7 separate regions of the Homo sapiens genome follow, and all the other regions are linked to region 3. Evidence: promoter capture Hi-C in 16 types of primary human blood cells and fetal thymus (Javierre and others, 2016). All regions are on one chromosome and are shown on one strand. Each heading gives the region's core, a stretch centred on a gene start or on the middle of the fragment in contact. The rest is flanking DNA. Distances are from core to core; before and after follow the strand shown. Region 1 has its middle 130 kb from the start of LINC01307. Region 2 holds the start of SLC35A3 (solute carrier family 35 member A3). Region 3 holds the start of SLC30A7 (solute carrier family 30 member 7). Region 4 holds the start of RTCA (RNA 3'-terminal phosphate cyclase). Region 5 has its middle 17 kb from the start of MIR553. Region 6 has its middle 87 kb from the start of LINC01307. Region 7 overlaps CDC14A (cell division cycle 14A).

The links. Contacts are between HindIII fragments. The CHiCAGO score rates a contact against its expected background, and 5 or more counts as called.
Region 1: a contact is called between a fragment that was not itself captured here and the fragment with the promoter of SLC30A7 in region 3, in 2 of 17 cell types (total B cells and fetal thymus). The highest score is 7.5, in total B cells.
Region 2: the fragment with the promoter of SLC35A3 here is called in contact with the fragment with the promoter of SLC30A7 in region 3 in 6 of 17 cell types (total CD8 T cells, naive CD8 T cells, naive CD4 T cells and 3 more); the score reaches 8.9 in total CD8 T cells.
Region 4: a contact is called between the fragment with the promoter of RTCA here and the fragment with the promoter of SLC30A7 in region 3, in 7 of 17 cell types (M0 macrophages, M1 macrophages, naive CD4 T cells and 4 more). The highest score is 9.8, in M0 macrophages.
Region 5: a contact is called between a fragment that was not itself captured here and the fragment with the promoter of SLC30A7 in region 3, in 1 of 17 cell types (monocytes). The highest score is 5.6, in monocytes.
Region 6: a contact is called between a fragment that was not itself captured here and the fragment with the promoter of SLC30A7 in region 3, in 2 of 17 cell types (total B cells and naive B cells). The highest score is 6.5, in total B cells.
Region 7: a fragment that was not itself captured here is called in contact with the fragment with the promoter of SLC30A7 in region 3 in 1 of 17 cell types (activated CD4 T cells); the score reaches 5.8 in activated CD4 T cells.

Annotation. Positions count from the first base shown.
Region 1 is chr1:101,451,835-101,455,283 of GRCh38, reverse strand. No RefSeq gene overlaps it. Among named protein-coding and RNA genes, the nearest start is that of LINC01307, 130 kb to the right of the region's middle. RefSeq lists enhancers at 1,251-2,450, 2,820-2,869. The HindIII fragment of the contact is 466 bases long and covers 1,464-1,929 here.
Region 2 is chr1:99,968,048-99,971,421 of GRCh38, reverse strand. It overlaps SLC35A3 (solute carrier family 35 member A3), which reads right to left and starts at 1,426. Exons shown (of 8, transcript NM_012243.3): 1 at 1,260-1,426. All of the region lies in intron 1 of LOC124904230 (a long non-coding RNA gene), which reads left to right. RefSeq lists enhancers at 977-1,066, 1,787-1,836, 1,897-1,946 and a silencer at 1,187-1,386. The HindIII fragment of the contact is 6,900 bases long and covers 1-3,374 here.
Region 3 is chr1:100,894,203-100,897,641 of GRCh38, reverse strand. SLC30A7 (solute carrier family 30 member 7) reads right to left here and starts at 1,552. Exons shown (of 11, transcript NM_133496.5): 1 at 1,300-1,552; 2 at 971-1,072. The coding sequence starts at 1,379. EXTL2 (exostosin like glycosyltransferase 2) reads left to right here and starts at 2,800. Exons shown (of 5, transcript NM_001033025.3): 1 at 2,800-3,009. RefSeq lists enhancers at 1,048-1,207, 1,258-1,507, 2,058-2,127, 2,022-2,744, 2,745-3,439. The HindIII fragment of the contact is 2,158 bases long and covers 143-2,300 here.
Region 4 is chr1:100,264,383-100,267,765 of GRCh38, reverse strand. RTCA (RNA 3'-terminal phosphate cyclase) reads right to left here and starts at 1,550. Exons shown (of 11, transcript NM_003729.4): 1 at 1,346-1,550; 2 at 1,142-1,242. The coding sequence starts at 1,390. RTCA-AS1 (RTCA antisense RNA 1) reads left to right here and starts at 1,592. Exons shown (of 3, transcript NR_110435.1): 1 at 1,592-1,762; 2 at 1,849-1,937; 3 at 2,519-3,024. RefSeq lists enhancers at 1,382-1,741, 1,310-1,859. The HindIII fragment of the contact is 11,806 bases long and covers 1-3,383 here.
Region 5 is chr1:100,297,058-100,300,406 of GRCh38, reverse strand. No RefSeq gene overlaps it. Among named protein-coding and RNA genes, the nearest start is that of MIR553, 17 kb to the right of the region's middle. The HindIII fragment of the contact is 9,400 bases long and covers 1-3,349 here.
Region 6 is chr1:101,408,945-101,412,329 of GRCh38, reverse strand. No RefSeq gene overlaps it. Among named protein-coding and RNA genes, the nearest start is that of LINC01307, 87 kb to the right of the region's middle. RefSeq lists enhancers at 1,580-1,659, 1,960-2,009, 2,030-2,079. The HindIII fragment of the contact is 3,236 bases long and covers 1-3,059 here.
Region 7 is chr1:100,379,286-100,382,563 of GRCh38, reverse strand. All of the region lies in intron 3 of CDC14A (cell division cycle 14A), which reads right to left. Among named protein-coding and RNA genes, the nearest start is that of CDC14A, 28 kb to the right of the region's middle. The HindIII fragment of the contact is 1,445 bases long and covers 1,068-2,512 here.

The DNA of each region.
Region 1 (3,449 bases), core at 447-2,946, 560 kb before region 3:
AAGGCATCTGAAGGGTTAATGGGTCAAGAACTATAGATGACATAAAATATCCTGCTGGAGATCAGCTGTTGGGAGGTTCTCCTTATAGGAATCGTCTTTAGGAGGAGCAGATGAAGTTTTAGAACAAAGAAGCTTCTTGGAATTATTTTCTCTCCCTCTTTGAGGGATAAAGTGGTCTGTGCTAACTTACTTCTTAACTGAGAAGGGATTCGATTCTTGGATTTTCCTCAACCTCTCAATGAGTGGGAATAGAGATCCTGAAATGTAGTTCATGCCTAATTTAAATATATAAATGATACCAAAATCACATTCCCAGCTAGGAATATTGCAGCCAGGGTAAAAGAGTTGCAGCCATAATCCCACTTTACATGCATTTGAAACTTTCTTGTCCTCAAAACACTTCCTCGGCCAGGTGTGGTGGCTCATGCCTCTAATCCCAGCACTTTGGGAGGCTGAGGGGGGCGGATCACTTGAGGTTAAGAGTCCAAGACCAGCCTGGCCAACATGGTGAAACCCCATCTCTACTAAAAATACAAAATTAACTGGGCATGGTGGGGTAGGCCTGTAATCCCAGCCACTCGGGAGGCTGAGGCAGGAGAATAGCTTGAACCCCAGAGGAGGAAGTTGCAGTGAGCTGAGATCACGCCACTTCACTCCAGCCTGGTCAACAGAGACATTGTCTCAAAAAATAAAAATAATAAAAACACTTCCTCATCCATTATTCAGCTTTAACTCACAACCTCCTCTGACATACTGTTTTACATAAAAGCAAATGGAGACCCAGAGATAGTGAGTTGTTCTCCATCAGACATTCAGCAAATGAGAGCTGAAACTAGAATCTGCATGTTCTTTCTCTTAGTCCAGCGGCACTGTGCAAGGGAGGAAATAAATCAGAAATTATGTGATACCGAGGAAAGGCAATAGAATGCTTCTTGAAAGATGAGGACTTTGAGGTGAGCTTGAGGGAAAGAATATTCACAAATGTCAGAGGAATAAAGCTTGGGTATGCAAGAAATATAACATCACTATCACCAAGACGGAATTTCTATTTTTAGCCCCCATCCCACCAGGTGGCATATACGATTCAATTACAGTTTTCTCCTCCTTTTTCCAAGATTGGTTTAATATAGGGAAGGGGAAGCCTACAGGATGTCAAGGCTGTGGGCTGGGGCAGGAAGTGGGTAGAAAGTTGTTCTCATCTCTCCACACTAGCATCTGCTGAGATGCCTTCTTTCCTGTGACTTCAGGAAGAACACCCCTACATATTCTCTGTTTCTCTTCCCTCCCACCTTCTTCTCTCATTTTGTGTGTCTCCTGAGGACATAGAAAACCTTTGGCTGCTTCCTACATGGTGCAAAAGAACTCAACAAGCCACCATCTCTCCTACTTCTACACTAAGCCTGCAGTACAAGACTGTAAACATGATTAACTTTCCATCTCACCCAGGAAGTAAGGCACAAGCTTTCTCTGCTGTGATCCCCAAACCCATATGGGGATACGTCATTATTCCTTCATCAAGATTCAGCCCCAAGAGGCTGGGAGGAGTGTCGGACCTGTCTCAGAGACACATCGGCAATGTCCTGTGATTCTCTCCTGATTTGTTTTCTCTCTCTCATCCCATAGAATCTTTACCTATCTGAATATCAGAAAACTGCCTCTGATGCACAGCATATTCTTCCAAATCTATCACTTAGGGCCTAAATTCTGCCCACTGCAGGGCTAAGGTCTCTAGCACCCAAGTCCAAATTTTCACAATTCACAAACCAAGAACTTCACTCTTATTCTCAGAGCTGTGCTCTAAAGATCCTCTCTGGAGCTGATGAATGACCTTGAGTAAATGAAAGGAAGTCAAGAGTTCAAGGTAATGTAAAGGGAGATAGAGGCACACATGACAAATCAGTCAATATATTTATTGGACTATATTAAGCTTATAGTTAGATACTGTGTTCTGCAGGATCTCAAGAAATAGTTACGGGAGCTTCCTGGGAGCTGAACACGTGGAGGTTCCTGGGGGGTGGCACGCCCAGGGAGGGCACAAAAGCTCTTTGCCCTGTTAGCACTAGGGAATGTATCTGAGTCACACGGCACCAAAGTATGTTACCAGCAGTGAATCCTTATGGGTCAGCAGCGACCTCAATTCTTGCCTCCTCAGAAGAAAGAATTTGACGGAGGAGCGGAAGGCAGAGTGAGAGACCCAGGCAAGTTTTACAACAGAAGTGAAAGTTTATTAAAAAGCTTTAGCACAGGAATGAAAGGAAGTAAAGTACATTTGGAAGAGGGCCAAGCAGTCTAGTTGAGAGATAAGCGCGCGGTTTGACCTCTGACCTGGGGTTTTATACATTGGCATGCTTCCGAGGTCTGCATCTCTTCTCCCGGGATTCTTCTCTTGAGGTGGGCTGTCCGCATTCATAGCCTGCCAGCACTTGGGAGGGGCCGCGTGCTCTGTGTTTACTGTTTAGAGTTGAGCACATGTTCCCTTACCAGTCAAATGTCCTAGAAGGTCATTTACCAGTTAAACCCCACCATTTTGCCTCTTAGTACACAGGCTTGAGCTCACTCACCCAACTCCTGATATCTTACCGAGAAGCTGCTAATCACCAATTTCAGATGTTTCTATCTATTGGGAGACTGCCTTTTCCTGGCACTGGCTGTGGCCAATTATGATTTTAGAGAGACAGTTTAGCAACTGCCTGACCATCACATGGTGGTCGCCTGACAGTCCTACTGGAGCGGAAGGGGACCTCTCTTGCCCAGCTTATGTCTGAGTAGCTGCCTACTGTAACAGCCTCTTACCCCATACCTCACCTTACGTGTCTCTTCATATGTATCCTTTGCAATATCCTTTATAATAAACCAAGTAACATAAGTAAGTGTCTCCCTGAGTTCTGTGAGCTGCTTCAACAAATTAATTGAATCAAAAAGGGGGGTCATGAGGACCCCAATTTGAAGACAGTCAGTCAGAAATTCCAGAAGCCCAGATTTGTGACTAGTGTGTGTGTTGGGGGCGTGCTGTCTTGGGGAACCCTTAACCTGTGGGATCCGACACTATCTCAGGGTAGATAGCAACAGAACTGAAAGATAGTATCAGAACTGAATTAGAATACTGGTATCAACTGATATTCACTGCTTGGCGTGTGGGGGAAATACCCACACACATTTAGTCACAGAAGTCTTCTTCTGTGTTGATGATTGTTGTGGCATGAGAGTGAAACCACCTTTGCAAAAATTATAACTCAGTGAATTATTACAGTGAAAGAGATCTGACCTAACCGACTCCATCTTGCTTCTAACCTCCAAGCTGTCCTTGTTCATCCCTGGCCGTAGGCCAAACTAACTCCGGGAGGGAATTAGTTTATAGTTTAATTTTGAAACAAAGATAATAACAATCATTTCCCAAAACAAAACCCCTTCCTGCCTGGGAACTAGACTGCCTTTACGGGACTTACAAA
Region 2 (3,374 bases), core at 177-2,676, 930 kb after region 3:
GGCAGGAGAACGGCATGAACCCGGGAGGCGGAGCTTGCAGTGAGCTGAGATTGCGCCACTGCACTCCAGCCTGGGCGACAGAGCGAGACTCCGTCTAAAAAAAAAAAAAAAGAATCATATTGATTTTACTGGAGCCACCGTCAGACTCAAATTCTGAAGGAAAAATCTGAAGCCTCCCTAAATAATATAAAATTTATTAAATGCCTCCCTAAATAATTTACATTTTATTCTGAAGCCGATCGAGAGTCACTGCGTATTTCTGAGGAAGGAATAACCAAAAAAAGAAAGTCATAAGATCTTTGGCTTTAAAAGTAATATGGAGGCAAGTGACTGGAAGGGTGCCAGGCTGAGGACAAGTCCAGTTTGGAAGTTATTGCTATAGTGCAAGTAAGAAGAGGAAAGACGAGCATATTTAGCAGACAGGTAGTGGGAATGAAAAAGGGGAGAACTAAATTTGAGATGCTGAAGAGATAGAATCAACAGTTGGGAGGAAAGTTAGCCTCAGAAATATAAGTTTACAAGTCATTCCCTTGAAACACCCTGAGTTTACCAGTGAAAGTGAATAAGAACACCAAGTAAGAAACTGCACCAAATTTCATCTTTAACTACTAAAGTCGAATGTTGATTTCAAAAACGAAAAGACTTAATTTTCAAATACTGCATTTAAGAGAACATAATAAAAGATCGTCTTTTACTATAAAGCAATGCACCCACACACCTGTTCTGATGAGAATCTCACCCCACTTCAAACAGTCCTTGTGTTCTTACTAGCCTTACCAAGGGCAGCCTTTCCATTTCTTTAAGTTCCTGCGGCTTCTTGAGCTCCAGGTGCTGGTCGGGTGCATCTGTGCCTACCACAGGGCTCAACACCGAGCGAGAGCTCATGGGATGTTCACTGAAGGAATGACGGGCCCCAGCCGGGCCCACCCGTCACTAGCTCCGCACGCACCAGGCGCTGAGGCACACACTGCCGTCTTCATTCGCTTGACACACCCCTCTCCTCGGGCCTTTTTTCCTCCTCCACCCAGTACATTCCGCACGTCGTCCGTCGGAGTTACAACGTGTCACCTCATCTGCTCCCACCCCTACTTAGCTAGCACTGTATTTCAGGTCTTCGATACCGTCCCCTTCACCCCTACAGACTTCACATCAGCCCCCTCGCATGCCTCCTCTTCCTCCTCCTCCAGGAGCTTCCCGGGCCGCCCCGCAGCCGCTAGCCTCCTGGTTCCCGCCCCTCCCCAGGTGCGCTGAGGACTCACCTCCCGCGCAGCTCGACCGGCTGAGCCCACCACCGGGGGCCGCGGTTCAGCTCCGCCGGGCGCCCCAGGCTGCCGAGTCCGCTGGGTCCTACGCGACCGCTGACCCGCAGCGCCGCCGGCTCCCGTCGCCGTAGCCACCGCCAGCTCGGTGCAGCCCAGGCGTTTCCGGGTTCCCGCGGTCCCGTCCCCCAAATGCTCCGGCTTCCGCCTCGGCTCTGGCAAATGCCGTTCCCGGCTCGGCTCTGGCAGCCCCAGCTCGGCACTTGGCAGCTCTGTCCCTAAGGCGACGCACCTGGGCTGCTCTGCTGGCAGCCCCTGGTTCCTGCTTCACCGTCGCGTGGAGGCCTGGGGCACTGCTTTCTGCTACACCTCTCCTAGGAGCGCGAAACAGATGGAGTGACACTCGTCGAGGGCCTCTGCGGGACTGTCTGTTTGCAGAGGGTGCCAAGGTGTCCACTGCGTAAGGAAGGGCAAAGTCCTTTGGGGCAAAGAACCCTGAGAGGAACGGGGAGATGGATTTTGAAAGCAAACGAACCCTCTCCTAAAAGTGACTGTCACTGACCTGAAAACAACCAGATTAGCTATGGCAAAGGCTGCCAACCAACCAGTGGTCTGCAAGAAGGCTTGTTCTTCCACTTCACCCACCCTGACTGAGATCTTGAGACTGAAGGAAACCCAAAGCCGTACCACCAATGGGCCTAGTGTCATCAACCGGGAGAGGAAAAAGAAAACTGGGCCCAGAGGATTGCAGAGTTATGAGGGACCAACCCCTTCCTGGCTGCATGGATCACAGCATTACCTTTTAAAAGTGTTCCAGTAGCTGTGTTGGAAACCCTCTAACCACGGCAGCCCATTCAGGTGATGAACAGGCTGAAATCAGTACTTCAGGTTCAGCTGGATTATCAAATAAGCGAATAGGATTATCTCTTTTTGTTAACTCAGGGCTGCTATAAATTAAGCCTATGTCTCTTTATATTGCAAATGATTAAAACCATGTCCAAGAGAGACATACTTAGAAAAAAAGTGATATTGAAGAAAAATAAGTAACTGTATTAGAGTAGAATAACTGGTTTTAAAATTTTCTGCAATACAGTCTTGAGAAAATTCCTGGATGGTAAAATACATATTAGATCTTAATACATGCCCAGTTTTTTTTGAAACCAAAATGTGCCTGTTAGATGATGATAACAGCATGCCTCGTTTTATTGTGATTTGCTTTATTGCTCTTCACAGACATTGCTTTTGTTTTTTTGTTTTTTTTTTTTACAAATTGAAGGTTTGTGGCAACCTTGCCTCAAGCACATCTATTGGTGCCATTTTTCCAACAGCATGTGCTCACTTTGTGTCTCTGTGTCACATAATATTCAATAATTTTTGCAATATTTAAATTTGTTCATCATTATTATATCTGGTATAGTGCTTTGTGATCAATGATCTTTGATGTTACTATGGTAATTGTTTTGGGGTGCTGATATGGTTTGGCTGTGTCCCCACCCAAATCTCAACTTGAACTGTATCTCCCAGAATTCCCACGTGTTGAGGGAGAGACCTAGGGGGAGATAATTGAATCATGGGGGCCAGTCTTTCCTGTGCTATTCTCATGATAGTGAATAAGTCTCATGAAATCCGATGGGTTTATCTGGGGTTTCTGATTTTGCTTCTTCCTCATTTTTCTCTTGCTGCAGCCATGTAAGCAAGTACCTTTCACCTCCCGCCATGATTCTGAGGCCTCCCCCGCCATGTGGAACTGTAGGTCCAATTAAACTTCTTTTTCTTCCCAGTCTCGGGTATGTCTTTATCAGCACCATGAAAATGGACTAATACAGGTGCCATGTACTGCACTCATATAGAAAGGCAAACTTAATTAATAAATGTTATGTGTGTTCTGACTACTCCACCAACTGCCCATTTCCCCACACTTCTCCCCCTTGGGCCTCCCTATTTCCCAATAAACAGCAATATTGAAATTAGGCCAATTATTAACCCTACAATGGCTTTGAAGGAAATCAAAATATTTTACCCCAAAATATACTACTTTGACATATTTTGAGATGACTGTTTAGAGGGCCTGCAATCAGAAGTAGCCTTTGCAGGCCAGATGTGGTGGCTCACGCT
Region 3 (3,439 bases), core at 303-2,802:
CTCAACAGAAGATCAAGGACAGCGATTTTCTCTGAAAATGGGTCTTAAACAACAGAGACTAAGTCTATTTAATAAATAGAAAACAGGTTCTTAATCTAGAGTCCAAGATTTAGTACAGGGAACCCAACAACATCCTGAAGCTTTATGTACAATTCTGAGTATTGGCTTTCATCAGATTTTTGAAGGAGTATGGGATCTAAAGACAGAATTAGTACACCTAGGAGTGTGACAGTCTTGTTAGCAGAACAACTTCATAAGACCTTAAGTTACTCAACAGCAAATACCTGAATAATAGTAACTTCACTGCCACAGAGTTACACACTAGATTTTCCTCCTCCTAAGGATGTTTCAAAAAAAACAAAAACCCTCAAAGGTGCCACCAAAACCCAAGAAATGTTGTTTCTAGAAACTATATGGGATTTTTACATCGCAGTTAAGACTACAGGAAAATCATGAGACAGTTTCGGCATTAAAGAGAGAAGAGAATGACACATATTCCTCCCGATATCACTTTATAAAACCTCCCATTCCAAGCCCCAATAACAAACTAAGTAGAACATCTCAGATATACTCTCTCAGAATCTTAAGGGTGAAATCCAAATGCCACTCCCCCCCGAGAGAGGCAGCAAACAAGTTTCTCCCAATTCCAACAAAGTGGGTAAACCTAAGGCCTACAATTAGAAATGAAAGATTCTGCCCATCTGCTAAAATAAGGAGGGGCTTGTCAGTCTTGTCTGATGGAACTGGAGGGGAGCGTGACAAGAGAGGTTGCACAGGATAGGCCCAGATCTTACTCAAGAACTGTAGCCCTACCAGATTGGTGTGGGTATGAGAAAGCAACTCAGCAGCAGAGGTAGGTAACAAAGGTAGGACCTGAACCTCCTAGTGAGGAGCTACGTGGCATTAAGCAAACAGTGCTTCGTCTCCCTCACACCCAGCTTCCGCCCAAACCATTTTCCCCTTTGGTTACCAGTTGCTCCAGATGCCGTAGAGTAGTTCCACAAAAGCGAAAGAGAGGTTCAGGCACAGGAAGAAAAACAGGTTCCGGGAAGTCTTGTCGGACAGTATAGACCTGGGAATGATACACGTGGAAAAGAGCCGGGAGAGTTAAGGAGGTGCCGGGACCCCGAGGCTGGGTACCCTCTTCAAGACCCTCCCAGTTCACATGCTCCTTTCTTCACAGCTAGGGGTTGACGGGGAGTTTTTGACTCTCCCTCACTGGACCTCGGGCCATCCTGAGGTCTGGGCCTTCTCCCTTTCTGCCGGACACCCCCTCCCCGCAAACACAGCACCCCGCACCTAAACCAGCCCGAGATCTTGCCGAACAAATTGAACTTGGGTGGTTTGTATTCATCGTCTTTGATGGACAGGGGCAACATCTTCTCTGCCCGGCGAAGGGCCGGGTCTACTCCCCTCTAGAAGTGGCTCCGTGGGGTGATGGCAGTGACAGTAGTGACGCCTCAAACGGGAATCCCCAGCGCTTGTCCGGGGCCGCGCGCCGCTGCGAGACACAGACAGACACAGACACACACCCGGGAATTCGCTTACTTCCGGCCCGGGCCGCGCAACGCGTCCTGGGACAGGAAAGGAGGGAGGCCGGTCGCGGGCGGGGCCTGCGCGGCGGAGGGCGTGGCTTGCGGCGGGGGCGGGATGAGAAAGGTGCTGGAGCTGTTGGAGGGACGCCAGGAGGTGGCAACTACCAGGGGGTGTGAGGGGCTGACCTGGGATGGAATCCTGCCACCCGGACTCAGGAAGAAAATCCTGAGGTGGCGACCTGCAGACTGGGCTGGGAGATGGAGAGCCCGCTCACGCCCACCCGACCGCCTACCACCAGTGTTCCCGGATGCATGGGCTCCAGCGCCTGCCCTTTCGCCATTTCCTCCCAACTGGCATTAAATCCTGGTGTGGTAGATATCAGTGATTAAGAGTCTAGGCAGCCACGTGTTCTATTGCCGCCAGTCCGCAGGAAACGCAAGTGATCGTTTTGCTGCGTTAACTCTATGGGCGCCCAAATCTTAGGAATCCATTCCACGCCACCCCGAAAACAGCGCTTGACCCTTCTGGACTGCCACGCAGGAGGCGATCAATGTTTTTCTTTCTTTATTTTTTTAAGAGACAAGGTCTCGCCCTGTCACCTAGGCTGGAGCACAATGAGGCTCACTACAGCCTGGAACTCCCGGACGCAAGTGATCCTCCTCAGCCTCCGGAGTAGCTGAGACCTCAGGCGTGCGCCACCATGCCTGGCATCAATCAATGTCTTTCAAAATAAAGGCTGTTAAACGTAGTATAGGAAAGAAGCTTTTTAATGGTAGGTTCTACCAGACGTGTTTGTTTGATTTTTAGGTTTGGTTAATGCATTGTTTCCCGTACAATCTCAACCCGCGGAAACCCCGAAACTCTAGAATTCGTGCCGGTCTCTTTCGCTTCCAGGTCATCCCCGGGGCAACGGCCGCCGCTCTAATTCTTGTCAGAACCTCCAGGCCAGTTTCAGCAACGTGCAGGCAGAAGCTGGCCCCTCGGTGGGATGCGAGGGCGTGTGGAGCGCGGGGAGGAGAGCCCCACAGGCCTTTCCTGGGCACCCGCGGTGGATGGGAAGGCTCCTTCGGGCGCCTTTCAGGGAAGTTGTTTGGCTGAGGGAAGGTGGTCCGTCACGTGAATGTTTAAAAGTTGTTACCTTGGAGAAGAAATGGAGGAAAGGATTGGCTTTCGGAGGTGGGCTGGAAACTACAAAACCGAGCTTCCTGGGAATGCCTTTTAGGCCGACAGGAAGTGGAGCGTCACCGAAAGGGAGGGGCGGCCACTCGGGGACTGTCCCTTGCTCCAGGCGCTCACTTTGCGGGCGGCACTTTTTCCAGGTTGTTAATCCAGCTAATGGAGAAGGATAGATGCACGCTACTTGGTTTAGAAAAAAAAACAAAAATGAGCAAACGAGACGCCCCTTCCGTTTTATGATAACTAAGCTGCAGGGAAATAAATCGGCTGGCCCTACTGCAATCTACTGCACTCGAGGTAAGGAGACACAGCAAAATGCTCCAGTATTAGTATTTTTCTTTTTGTAGTGAGGATATATGCATGTTTTGCTCTCGTTCTGAGAACTTTGTGTGTGTGTATGGAGTATTCGGTGGTTTTATTTTTGAAAATATGTACTTATTCTACAATTTTGAAAAATGTTAATTAAAACTGCTGTGTAAAAACAGCTAGGTTTCAGAAGTAAGTTCTGGGAAGAGTATTTTGTATTTGCCTTTGTTAGCGTATATTTCATTCTTTTAATTTAAGTGTAGAAATATTTAAAATTAGTAGCATTTACTCTTTTTTTGGAAGGAAGTTTTTGTATTAGCAGTAGACCTTGAATTTTACTCTACTGCACTGCTGAGGAAAAATTAATTGGGTGCAAACTAGATAGTTTAAAGATAAATAATTCTATGGTAATTGGATTTTT
Region 4 (3,383 bases), core at 301-2,800, 630 kb after region 3:
CCCTCCGTATCTCAGAATGTGACTATATTTGGAGATAGAGCCTTTAAAGAGATAATTAAGTTAAAATAAGGCCACCATACAATCTTACTGGTGTCCTTATAAAAAAAAAAAAAACTAGAACATACAGAGACGCTAGGGGCAAGGTACACAGAGGAACCACCATGTGAAGAGGCAAAAAGACAGGCCTGGAGCAGATCCTTTTCTCATGGCTCTCAGAGGAAACCAACCTTGTCAGGACCTTGATCTTGGACTTCCAGCCTCCAGAACTGTGAGGAAATAAATTTCTGTTGTTTAAGCTCCACTCTGTGTGTGGCATTTTGTTATGGCAGCCCTAGCAAACTAATACAACACCTACAGCCTAATGAATTGGATTCCCCTGTTGGTGAACTGGAGGGCTGCAAACTATGACAAAGGCAATTAACATTAACATATCAGTAATTGCCTTTTGGTAATTTCAAAACTGTAGACAAAAGACTGAGACCGCTGATTTATTAAAATGTAATAAATACAGAATACATACAAAGCAATCAGTGTGGCTTCAAACCTGGGTCCTCTTCTAGCAGGTGCATGTACCTGAAGCTCAACTAGTGGCATGCCCAGCTACCCAGACAGAAGAAATAAGGTCAAATGTCAAGGTGTTTCCCTCTCCACAACAGATAATTCTGGTCATAACAGCTCTCTGGAGGTATGAATGAAGGCTGGGATAACACATCTCAGGATTCTTTCCTGTTTTATGATTCTAAAACTGACAGCAGAACCAGAATGCACTGGTTATAAAACAGGGTTTCCTCTGGCGTCACAAGCATTTCTGCCCTATCTATCTTGCCAGCTCATACGTGCTGTTCGGATATTTGGAATGCCCGGTGAGGTGAGAAAACATTTTAAAAGCTAGCTCTTCAGCAAATGACACTATTTAGTCAAACAGAGAAAACTCGAGACCATTTCTAAACTCACCCCTCCAGGCTTTCAAGACTTTACAACCCAGGCCACCGCCCAGGCAGAGTGCCCCGCCCTGGATCGCCCATACCTGCGTCTGGGACCTTCTGGGTTCCACCACTCGGACTCCCGATGCCCCAGCCCGGCAGCCCGACCCCCCGATCCCCCAGCTTCACGGCCCAACTCCCCCTCCAGCCAGATTTACCTCAGGCCTGGCGTGCTCCGGCCGGCTCGGATCTTCTGCACCCGCAAGGGGAGGCCTAGGAGACAGCTCAAGGCCGTAGAGACTCTCAGGATCTGGCCGCCCTGCAAAGGTTGGGGTACAGGGAGAAGAGAAGTAAGCACACCGGTGGTGAGAGCTCCCCTCCTTAGTTAGGCTGCAGCCCCGGCCGCTTCGCTCTGTACTCACCCCTTCCATGATGCTGCCATCGACCTCCACCCGCGGCCCCGCCATGGGGGACACCCTGGGGCCCAGCCCGCAGCGACAAAGCCTCCGCCAGAGCGGGAGAAAGAAGAGACGTTGGCTCCCGCCCAGTAGTTCAGAAACCTTGGTTCATGCCTGGGGCGCAGGAGCCTGACGAGAAAGCGGAAGAAGCGGCGCCTCTCGGGACACTGGAGTCAGCAGAAACGAACCCCCGGGTTCGCCCAGTTCCGCAGTCAGTGCGCATGCGCGTAGCTCGGCTTAAAGGAGCCGCGCTGGGAACACTGCGGTCGGGGCGAGGAAGCTGCCGGGGAAGTGAGATGACGGTCGCGGGGGTGCCCAGGAGCCCTGAAAAACTTGTGCCCTGGGCACGGCAAAATCTGCAGGTTGCAGAAAGTCTCAACTGTAAGATAACTCCTCCAGTTATCCCGCAGGCTTGTGCTTTATCTCTGTTTTGTGGGTAAATATGTGTTTATATCTGTTTTCTCGAGGATCCTGGCATACCCCGAGGTGCCGACTTTTAGAGCTGAAGATGCAAGAAAGATTGGGATCCTGCGATGCACCGAACCTGTCTCTCGAAGTGTGTGCGCCCTGGTACATTGATACTCTTGGCCTTTGGTTCCTTGCGGTGTGCGTGTTTGTGTATGCGGAGTGTGTTATCTTTCTTTCTAGGGTGACACACCATTTATTTGAGAGGCGGGAAAGGCAGAATCACTAGTTTAATATTCTGAAAAGCCAAAGTTATGCCATTTTGCTTGAGAGTGAGTGCAAGCTCTTGACTCCCAGGAACAGTGCAGCTAACAATTCACCTCAGGCGAGGGCAGAAGCAATAGCCAGCTTCTTGGTTCTGCCTGTGGCTCAGTTCCTACATAATTGAGTACCAAATAATATGTAAACCTCTAGGGAAGCAAAAAAGAGTAATTCAGCTTCTACCCCCGAAGTTATTGGAGGTATAATGGAGAGACTGAGACGTAATCAATTACAATGTCATCCTCAATAATAATTAACATGTACTGTATTTAGAGTTTATTATGGGGACAATTACAATATATTAATAATATACTGTAACAATAACAGGCAACACTTATTGAGCACTTAGGTGTTGTGCACTGCATGCATTCATAACATGATAAAGTACTTACTGTTTTTACTGTTTTACAGCTTCCTGTGTTAAACAATTTGCTACAAGGTCACACAATTTTAACTAGAAGACTGAGATGTGAACCTGGGTGGTCTGATGTGAACACCACTGTCTGGTAATCCCAACGCTCTGCTGCTTTGCGACAGAGAATGTTTTAGGGAACACACAGACTATGTACTTAACCAAATCTGGAATTTGCCGTAAGATATTAATCAGAGAAGTAATGATACTTGCATTTTAAAATGAAGGCTTTGGCAGTAGGAGAAGGGTGAATAAGAGGCTTAAGAGCCTGAAGGGAGAAATGCCAATGATACAATTATCCAGCAAGAAATAATCAGAAGTTGAAGTAAGGCAATGATGGTAGGGATGGAATATAAAAAAGCTGTACCCCTATCTGACATCTTTATTGGGGGAACCCGCCCCCAATATTTCAACGTAGGTTCTTTCTATTTTCCATAAGTGTTGGCCAGCTGAGAAATAAAGAGAGACAGTATAAAGAGAGGAATTTTACAGCTGAGCCACCGGGGGTGACATCACATATCGGTAGGACCATGATGCCCGCCTGAGTCTCAGACCAGCAAGTTTTTATTAAGGGTTTCAAAAGGGGAGGGGGTGTAAGAACAGGGAGTAGGTACAAAAGTACAAAGATCACATGCTTCAAAAGGCAAAAAGACCTTACTACTAGTAAGGGTCTAACAAAGATCACATGCTTCTGAGGGAACAGGACAAAGGGCAAAAGCAGAACTACTTATAAGAGTCCAACAAAGATCACAAGGCAAAGGGCAAAAGCAGAGCTACTGATAAGGGTCTATGTTCAGCAGTGCACATATTGTCTTAATAAACATCTTAAATAACAGAAAACAGGGTTCAAGAGCAGAGAACTGG
Region 5 (3,349 bases), core at 416-2,915, 600 kb after region 3:
GGTGAGATTACATAAAACAGACATCACCCAGATATGGATGTAGTGACTACTGGAACTTTGGGCCCTCTTTTTTAGGAAGAGGATGGAAATGTCTAAAAAAGACAGTTGTATCTTGCTAAGCAAAAGCAGTAAGATACTATCGTTATCAGAAGATAGAAACACAAATTGATGCTGACTGACCAAAAGGATAGATTCTGCTGGCTATTTACTGTCTCTCAGCTTCAAGCACACCTTTCAAAACTCTGGTTCATGTTTGGGTGTGCAAAATATAATTTCCAGACTCCCTTGCCACTTGGTTTCTGGTTAGGTTCTGCAAAAAGAAAACCCTGAGTGGAGCTTTGAAAGAGAGAGGAAGAAAGGGAGAAAGGACTTTCCCTGCTTCCAGTTCCTGTCAGGATTGCTTTCATAGCAGCAGCAGCAAACTGTGGCACTGAGCTTCTTCTAGCACCATTGCAGCCCTGGCAACACCCTTGCTGTGCTCCCTTGACAGTAGAAATACCAGCCCCACTGTGCTCCCTCACCAACTAGGCCATGCCACCTAAACCACACGCGCGCCTGCCAGGTTGCACTCTGATAACACTACTCTTACCTTTTATTTCCCCAGTCCTAAGGCTGTTAACTGCTTGCACTTACTAATCTTTGGTTATCTCAGTGTCCTCTCATTCCTCTTTCAGCCTTCCAACAACTACATAACAATTTCCTACGTAAGATCCCACCTTTGTTTGCAATAACAAATGTGGTTTCTGTTTTCTTGATTGAGCTATGACTGATTCATGGGCGTATAACCAGTGAAATATCAAAATCAGTATTTTGGTTATGACTGACTTTGGGGACCAATGAAACACATAGCAGAAAACTCAAAATAAGCCCCGTGAATTATTTGGTAGGACAGATCCACCTATGCCTCAGAAATTGTTGCCTCAGTGGTTCCACTTGCTGAACTCCAATTTCTCTAAACTCTTACAGGCCAGTGTGTGTGTTTTGCATTTATTTGGCCACCAATGGCTTTAAGTCACTGAGCTTTACAAGGTGGTCCAGAAGGTTCTGTCCTCCTAGGGATATCCTGCATAGCTGTTGTATAGTGCTTGACCTTTGGATATACACGCAGTCCCTAACTTACAATGGTCTAACTTATAATTTTTCACTTTACAGTGGTGCAAAAGCGATATGCAAGCACACTTCAGATTTTGAATTTTTACCTTTTCCTCCAGCTAGCGATATACGGTCCAATATCTCTCATGATGCTGGGCAGCAGCAGCAAGCCACAGCTCTGTCAGTTACACAATCACAAGGGCAAACAACCAACATACCATTCTGTTTTTCACTTTTATTACGGTATTCAATAAATCACGAGGCTATTCAACACTATTATAAAGTAGCTGATTTTGCCAAACTGTAAGCTGATGTAAGTGTTCTGAGCATGTTTAAGGTAGGCAAGGCTAAGCTATGATGTTCAGTAGGTTAGGTGTATTAAATGCATTTTTGACTTATTTTCAACTTACGATGCGTTTATTGGGAGATAACCCCATCTAAGTTGAGGAGCATCTGTATTAAATGAAGGGTAGCACATTGCTGCCCACAAAAGACATTGGCTAGGGTCAGGATAGGAAAGAAAAAGGTGGTACTACTGCTAAAAGAGAAAACGGTCATTTGAAATCTCCACCAGGTGATGGGATATCTGCCCGGCCCTACCCCATTAACATCTACAAAGACCAAGTCTTTCCCTTTCACTACTGCTTTTAATGTGCATTTTAATCTGGCTTTACTTGGAGTTTTTGTTAACTTTGTAGTAAGGAGTCCCTGAGTGTTTTCCCCCCTCCCCTTCTCCTTTAGGAAATGCCTGTGTGCCCAGAGAAATCACTGAAAAAACATATCATGCACACCTATCAATCAGCTCCATCTCAGAGCTGTGGAAGCAGCACACATTAAAACCCAGACAAAAACCAAATGTCACACTAATTTTCTACTGTGAAGGAAAGAGCTAACCAAAAGAAACCACCAACCATCACCACCCCATCAACACCACCATTACAAGAGTCTGATTATTTTAATGATCACCAAAACAATGTTTTCACAATTGTTCTTCCTAAAAAGACACTTTATGTTTCATACTAGCAGTAAAATTGCCTCCTTTCTTACAGGTTCTAATCAATAAAGAACAGATACAAGGAGGGCCAGGCATGGTGGCTCATGCCTGTAATCCCAGCACTTTGGGAGGCCGAGGCAGACGGATCACTGAGGTAAGGAGTTCGTGACCGGCCTGGACAACATGGTGAAAACCTGTGTCTACTAAAAATACAAAAATTAGCTGGGCATGGTGGTGCATGCCTGTAATCCCAGTTACTCAGGAGGCTGAGGCAGGGGAATTGCTTGAATCCGGGAGGCAGAGGTTGCAGTGAGCTGAGATCATGCCACTACAGTCCAGCCTGGGTGACAGAGCAAGACTCCATTAAAAAAACAAAACAAAAAAAAGGACAGATACAGGGCACTAATAACTTTGAAAATAGAGGCTCTCTGGTAAAGCTGGATTGGGAAGCAAGAGATCTAGGACCTGAAGTCAAAGTAGAGCCACCTACTGCCTCCCCTTAAATTTAGGCTTAGCCCCAGCCAGTGGGGAAGATTTTCAAGGCAGATCCTGAGCAAACCTGCCCTGCCACCACCTAAAGGATCACAGGTCTGTCTAAAAAATTCCACTGTACAAGTGTCTTTTCACGAAGGAGCATGGGGGGAAGGTGGGCGGGAGACCCAGCCTTCTTACTGTCCTTGCTGCAGGCAGTGCACCAGTTACGGGGAGTGGAGGGGACTGTCTCCTGATGGAAGTCAGGCTTTCACCAACCAGATTACTGACTCCTCTCCCTGCTTTGAAGAACAAGTAGCCCAAAAGAGATACTGGAAAAGTTCACTACAATTCTGCTTTCTCCTGTGGAGTGGGGCATAAGCCTCATCAATGTGGAAATGACTAAACGCCAAACATCTACTCCAAATTATTTTCCTGAAAGATTTCTTCTCAGTAGCTATTACAGAGAGATGATGGTATAATACAAAATTCAAAAATAGTTCATTGCAGCACTATTCACAATAGCAAAGACATGGAATCAACCTAAATGCCCATCAGTGGCAGATTGGATAAAGAAAATGTGGTACATATATACCATGGAATACTATGCAGCCATAAAAAAGAATGAATCATGTTCTTTGCAGGACCTGGAGGCCATTATCCTTAGCAAACTAATACAAGAAGAGAAAACCAAATACTGCATGTTCTCACTTATAAGTGAGAGCTAAATGATGAGAACACTGGGACACAAAGAGGGGAACAACACACACTGGGGCCTACTTGAAGGTGGAG
Region 6 (3,385 bases), core at 192-2,691, 510 kb before region 3:
TTCCTTCATCTTGACTTTAGATAACCTGATGTCTATGTGCCTAAGTGATGATCTTTTTGTGATAAATTTCCCAGGTGTTGTTTGAGTTTCTTGTATTTGGATGTCTAAGTCTCTAGCAAGGCTGGGGATGTTTTCCTCAATTATTTCTTCAAATATGTTTTCCAAACTTTTAGATTTCTCTTCTTCCTCAGAAACACCAATCATTCTTAGGTTTGGTCATTTAACATAATCCCAAATTTCTTGGAGGCTTTTTTCATTTTTTTTTTCTTTTTTCTTTGTCTTTATTGGATTGTGTTAATTTGAAAACCTTGTCTTCAAGATCTAAAGTTCTTTCTTCTGCTTGCTCAAGTCTATTGCTGAGACTTTCCAGTGCATTTTGCATTTTTCTAAGTGTGTCCTTTATTTCCAGAGGTTTTGATTGGTTTTTATTTATGCCATCTATTTTACTGAAGATTTTTCCTTTCATATCTTGTATCTTTTTTTATTTCATTAAGTTGGACTTCACCTTTCTCTGATGCCTCTTTGATTAGCTTAATAATCAACCTTCTGAATTCTTTTTCAGGTAAATCAGGGATTTCTTCTTGGTTTGGATCCACTGCTGATGAGCTAGTGTGATCTTTTGGATGTGCTAAAGAAACTTCTTTTGTCATATTACCAGAATTGTTTTTCTGGTTCCTTCTTATTTGGGTAGACTATGTCAGAGAGAAGATCTGGGGCTCAAGGGCTGCTGTTCAGATTCTTTTGTCCCACAGGGTGCTTCTTTGATGTAGTGCCATCCCCTTTTTCCTAGGGATGTGATTTCCTGAGAGCAGAACTGTAGTGATTGTTATTTCTCTTCTGGATCTAGCCACCCAGCAGAGCTACTGGGCTGGTACCAGGGGATTTCTGCACAGAGTCCTGTGATGTGATCCTTCTTCAGGTCTCTCAGCCATGGATAGCAGCACCTGCTTTGGTGGAGGTGGCAGCGGAGTGAAATTGACTCTGTGAAGGTTCTTAGTTGTAGTTTTGTTTATTGTACTAGTTTTTTGCTGGTTGGTCTCCTTCCAGAAGGTGAACTTCCAAGAGAGCATCAGCTGTGGTAGTATAGGGAGGATCAGGTGGTGGGCAGGGCCTTGGAACTCCCAAGACAATATGTCCTTTGTCTTCGGATATCAGGGCGGGTAGAAAAAGACCATCAGGTGGGGGCAGGGTTAGGCAGGTCTGAGCTCAGACTATCCTTGGGTGGGGCTTGCTGTAGACACTGTTGGGAATGGAGTGTGTGGTTCTCAGACCAATGGAGTTATGTTCCTAGGGGGATTATGACTGCCTCTGCCTTGTCTTGTAGGCCACCAGGGAAGTGGGGGAAATCCAGCAGTTACAGGCCTCACCCAGCTCCCACATATCCCAAAGGCCAGTCTCACTCTTGCTGTGGCCCCCTCTACAGCACCAAGTTTGTTTCCAGGCAGTGGGTGAACAGGGCTGATAACTTGCTCCAGGCTACCAATCTCCAGCTGTAAAAGCAAGCAGGGCTTTCAGGTTTCATGGCTCCCCACCTGCCACAGCTTCTGTGCTGTGTCTGCACTCCAGATTCACCCCTCCCTCAAGTTCCATCCAGGAAACTTTGTGTTCAGTTGAAGTTGTTACACAGTTCAGCTAAAAGTTTCCTCCCTGTGGTCTTTTCCCAGTTCCTCTGGCAGCACTCCCCAAGGACCTCTGTGAGACAAAGTCAGAAATGGTTTCCCTGGGGACCAAGAGAGCCACAGGGCTCTTCTAGCTGCTTCTTCTACCCTTGTATTTTGCTCAGCTTTCTAGAATTGTCTCAACCCCGGGTAAAGTCAAATCCTTCTCTTGTGATCTGAACCTTCAGGTTCCCCAGTGAGAGTGTGTGTTTGGGGGTGGATGATCCCCCTTTCACACTTTCACACTTTGGCTGTCTCTCGGGGCCTGCAAGAGTGATTCACTTCCTTCAGAGGGTCTGTGAATTCTCTCAGATTTCCTGGTATGTTCCTGTGATAGATGTGGGAGCAAAAGTTCACGATGTGAGTCTCCACATGCTGCTCTCTGTCTGAATGGGAGCTGCAGTTTAGTCCTGCCTCATATCTGCCATTTTCCCCAACCTGTCTCCATTCCTGTTTTTAGCAATAGGAAGACTCACAGAGATACAGCAGCCTAGACTTCAACCAGCTTGTCATCTCCAATCAATTATTTGTGGATACATTGAGCACTGTGCTGACAGGCTCAGCTTTAATGTCATGATCTGTGAGTAATGTCTGCCATGACTTTGATTATATATTTTCCACATACCTATCATAAGTGTAAAGGGCTGTAAACCCAGACATTAATAATTATATAATTACTTTAGCCTGTTATTGTTTGTATCAGCAAAAACAAGGTAATAACTGTCCAATAATTGGGGGTAGGTTAGATAAGTTATATGTAATGTAGCAATATTTGACTATTAAAATATAATCTATACATTTATCAGATGATTGAAAAGATGTTTATGATTATTATGTGAAAAAATGAGTTTCAAGTTGTATAAAATATGATCACATTTTTCAAATGGATTGTTGAGATAGGATGTATGTTGAGACACTATTTACATATGTAAATATAAAGCAGGTCAGAGCTCAGAGCTCTTCCTCATCTCTTTATTTTCTTTTCTACTGCTTCCTAGGAATTTTGTGTTTTGTTTTTTCTTATATTGTTATTGTTGTTGTTACAGTTATTATTTCATTCTGTTTTGTTTTGTTTGTGCCTTTTTAAGGTAGGAAAAAAGAGAGAGAGAATCTGTTAGACTAGTAAAGTATTACATTTTTGCTATAAAAGGCATCAATATAATCAAAGGGTTTTTTGCCTGTAAATGTTTAATTCTGATTTTTACAAAACATCCCTTCTAAATAAAGCACAGAATGAAAGGCCCTGACACCACCTTTTCAAGAGTGGAAACCAATAAACTAGCAGAGAGAAAAAATGGTAAAAAGGGAGCCCAGAGGGAGCCCATCTGAGGCAAACCTGGATGAACTGACACATAACTCAGAGGAGAAAGTAAAGGACTGTTCTGTATCATCTTCCAAGCTTGGTACATCTTGAACATCTAGTAGTAAAGTTTTCTCAATGTACTTAGCCTTAATATCCTTCAAGATGTCACTAGCATAACTAAAGGATATGTGTGCTTATGGGTGTGTTTTCAGAAAGAAAGTCAGAAATAATGTCTACCAAAGTGTTAACAGTAATTATCCAAGAGTAGTGATATTATGCATAGTTCTTACATTATTTTTGCTTATTTATATTTTCTAACTTTTTTCTACAATAAACACAGAGAGTTTTAAATGAGATTTTTAAAATTATAGCTATGATTTTAAAAGAGAGAAAGAAAAATCATACAAAGGAGATTTCAGAAAAG
Region 7 (3,278 bases), core at 541-3,040, 520 kb after region 3:
AAATCAATAATTAAAACTGTATTGACGGCCAAGCACAGTGGCTCATGCCTGTAATCCCACCACTTTGGGAGGCTCAGGCGGGAAGCTAGCTTAAGCCCAGAAGTTCAAGACCAGCCTGATCAACATAGTGTGTCCCTGCCTCTACAAAAACTAAAAAAAAAAAAAAAAAAAAATAGTTAGCTGGGTGGGGTGCAGAAGTGTGCACCTATATTTCCAGTTAGTCAGTTGACTGAAGTGGGAGAATCATCAAAGCCCAGGAGTTTGAGGCTGCAGTGAGCTATGACTGCACCATGGCACTCCAGCCCAGGTGACGCAGTGAGACCCCCTCTCAAAAAAAAAAAAAAAAAAAAAAGAATAGAGGAAGGTATTCAGTTTTTTCAAAATACCACAACTTTGTCTTTTGTTAGTAAAGTCTTCTTTTTCAGAAGACTTTAGCCCAGTGTTCTTAGCATGTCTGTGTCAAGGATCCCTCTGAGAACCTGAAAAAAAGCCATGAATCCTCCCAGAAGAAAAATGTAAATACATACAAAATTGTATAATTTCAAGGGTTTATGGATCCCTTGAATTACCAGAATAATAATTCCAGCTCAAGGCTATCAATCATTGATGACATTTAACATTAAATAACATACACAGTTTAACAAATTGTTCTCACTTCAATGCATCTTCCCTCTTTTGATTGCTTCCCCTATCCTAGGGGAAAGACCAAACAGCAACCTATTACTGCCTAATTCCTAGTACTGACAATTTTTTAAAGTACAGTTTAAATAAGCAGCAGGTTTTTTATTGGTGATGATGCATTTTATGTTTGGATTTTTAATCTAAGCATATGTTTGATGGGATAATTTTCCATTCTGATTGACATAATTAAAATAAGGACATTGGGAATAGAATGCATATAGACACAGAAACACAAAAATAGCGATAAATCACCAACTCAAATCATCAACTGGAAAAAAACATCTTCTCATTTCAAAAATGAGAAATTTGGGATTGGAATAAAATGTACAGCAAAATATTACCTATCTATATAAAGCACAGAATGAGGAAGAAAAATCACACAAGCTTTCTTGGAAGGAATAAAAATTTCCAAACTAAAAAATGAAATGTGCCTAAAAGAACTGGGAAATCACACAAGAGAAGAATCCTAAGACGAAGTTACTAGTTAACACAGTGCGAAATTACTCAGAGAAGTAAAGGAGTTTGAGGATCCAGCAAGTGCCATCAGATTCAGCATTTAAGACGTTATTAGAGCAGTTTCGGTAGAGTAGGGAAGGCAAAAGTTAGATAACAAAGGGTTAAGAAATCAGCACACAGGAAGGATGGAGGCAGGCTCTTCTTCTGAAACCTCTGGAAGCAAAAGGAGAAAGGGGGATCTGCAAATGAAGGGGATCATGACAAAGTCAAAAGAAGTCTCTGTGTGTCTGTTGTCCCTGCACTAGGCACTGAGAACACAAAGATACATGACATCCTCCACCTTCCACCCTCTAGAAGCTCATAGTCTAGTGAGAATGACAGGTGCAAACAGGTAATTACAATTCATCAACGATACAGATCTGCACAGAGAATGATGGGAAAACAAGGGAGGCACCCTCAATCCAGTCCAAAAGGACAAGAAGATGCTTCCTAAAGGGTGGTGGCTGGACAAGGTATTAAAGAATGAAGAGCTATCAAGCCAGAGGGTAAGGGCATCCCAGTCAGACTGGTCTTCATGAGCAAATGCATGGAACAGCTGGTATGGTAGAGTAAAGTGCAAGGCTGGGAGTGGCAAGGGTACTGCTGCTTCCCAGTAAATTAGTGCATGAAATCATCCACTGGGAAAACAACAAGGGTGAGAGCTGGCAAGGCAGAAAGACAAGAAAGCAAAGTACCCAAGACCTTACTGAAGTAAGTGACCATGGGCTGCAGGCAAGAGACATCAGCAGGGTGCCAGTGGACTGAGAGAACAGGGAGACTGAAGGTCTAGCAATCCCAGTAGTGTGAGAGGGACAGAATGTGCAAAGTGAGTAACAAAGGCATTTTCCAAGTGGGAGAATCTGGAGTCTGGGTTCGTGGAAGTGAAGCAGACAGAATGGCCCTAACACTTACTGGAATGAAAGAGGCAGAGGAGCCTCAAAGTCAGCGTGGGACAACAAGGTCAGGTAGCTGGGGCAATGCTAAGAGTGAACAAAGGATGACTGTAAACCAGAGGCTATGGTTCCTACTGAAGGTGGAAAGAAGAACAGGAAAAATGTGGTCAAGAGCCATGAAATCTAGCCCTGACTTTGCCTGCTGCACTGGGCAAGTCACACACCTTTCCCAGGCTTCCCTTTCTGAGTCTTGACTAAATGGTCATTTAGATTCCTAAAATTATATTGGACAGCTTTCCCATATATAAACAATAGCTTTAAGGCTGAGAAACAGGTGTTCATCGATTTTGTAGAAGAACTGTCTTTATTATATTCCCTATCAGAATTCACAAATGTTACATTGGTAACTTTATTATGTATAGGACTTTAAAATGTACAAAGCTTTTACATATTGATATAGTTTGGATATTTGTCCTCTCCAAATCTCACGTGATCCCCAGTGTTAAGAGGTGGGGCCTTGGGTCATGGGGGCAGATCCCTCATGAACGGCTCGGTGCCATTCTGAGGGGATTGAGTGGGTTTTCACTCTTAGTTCCCCCAAGATTTTGTTGTTAAAAAGAGTGTGGCACCTCCCTCCCCTCTCCCTTGCTCCCTCTCTTGCCATATGACATGACTGTTCCCCTTGACCTTCTGCCTTGAGTGAAAGCTTCCTGAGGGACTCACCAGAAGCAGATGTTGGTGCCACGATTCATGTACAGCCTGTGGAACCATGAGCTATATAAAACTCTTTTCTTTATAAATTACCTAGCCTCTGGTATTCCTTTATAGCAATGCAAAACAGACTAAGACATGTTTTCTAATATAATACTAACCACCACCCTGTGACAGTTCTATAATTCCTATTTTACAGATGAAGAAACTAAGATTCCACAAAACTGAAGCAATTCCAACTTTGGACTGGTACAGTAAATCTTTTTCTCCTAATTAGAGATTCTATGTAGTATGCTTCATTGAGACAACTCATGACTTATCAACATTTGGGTTTTTAAAATTCAATCATTCAGCAAGTAATGCAGTGCCCATTAATTGTCCTAAAGCTACATATGTCATTCCAGACAACCAACAGATTACCTTACCACTAAAATGAACCAAGGAGAGTGTTTAAACTTTATTAATAATGTCGAAACACAGCATTATAAATGAAAGCAA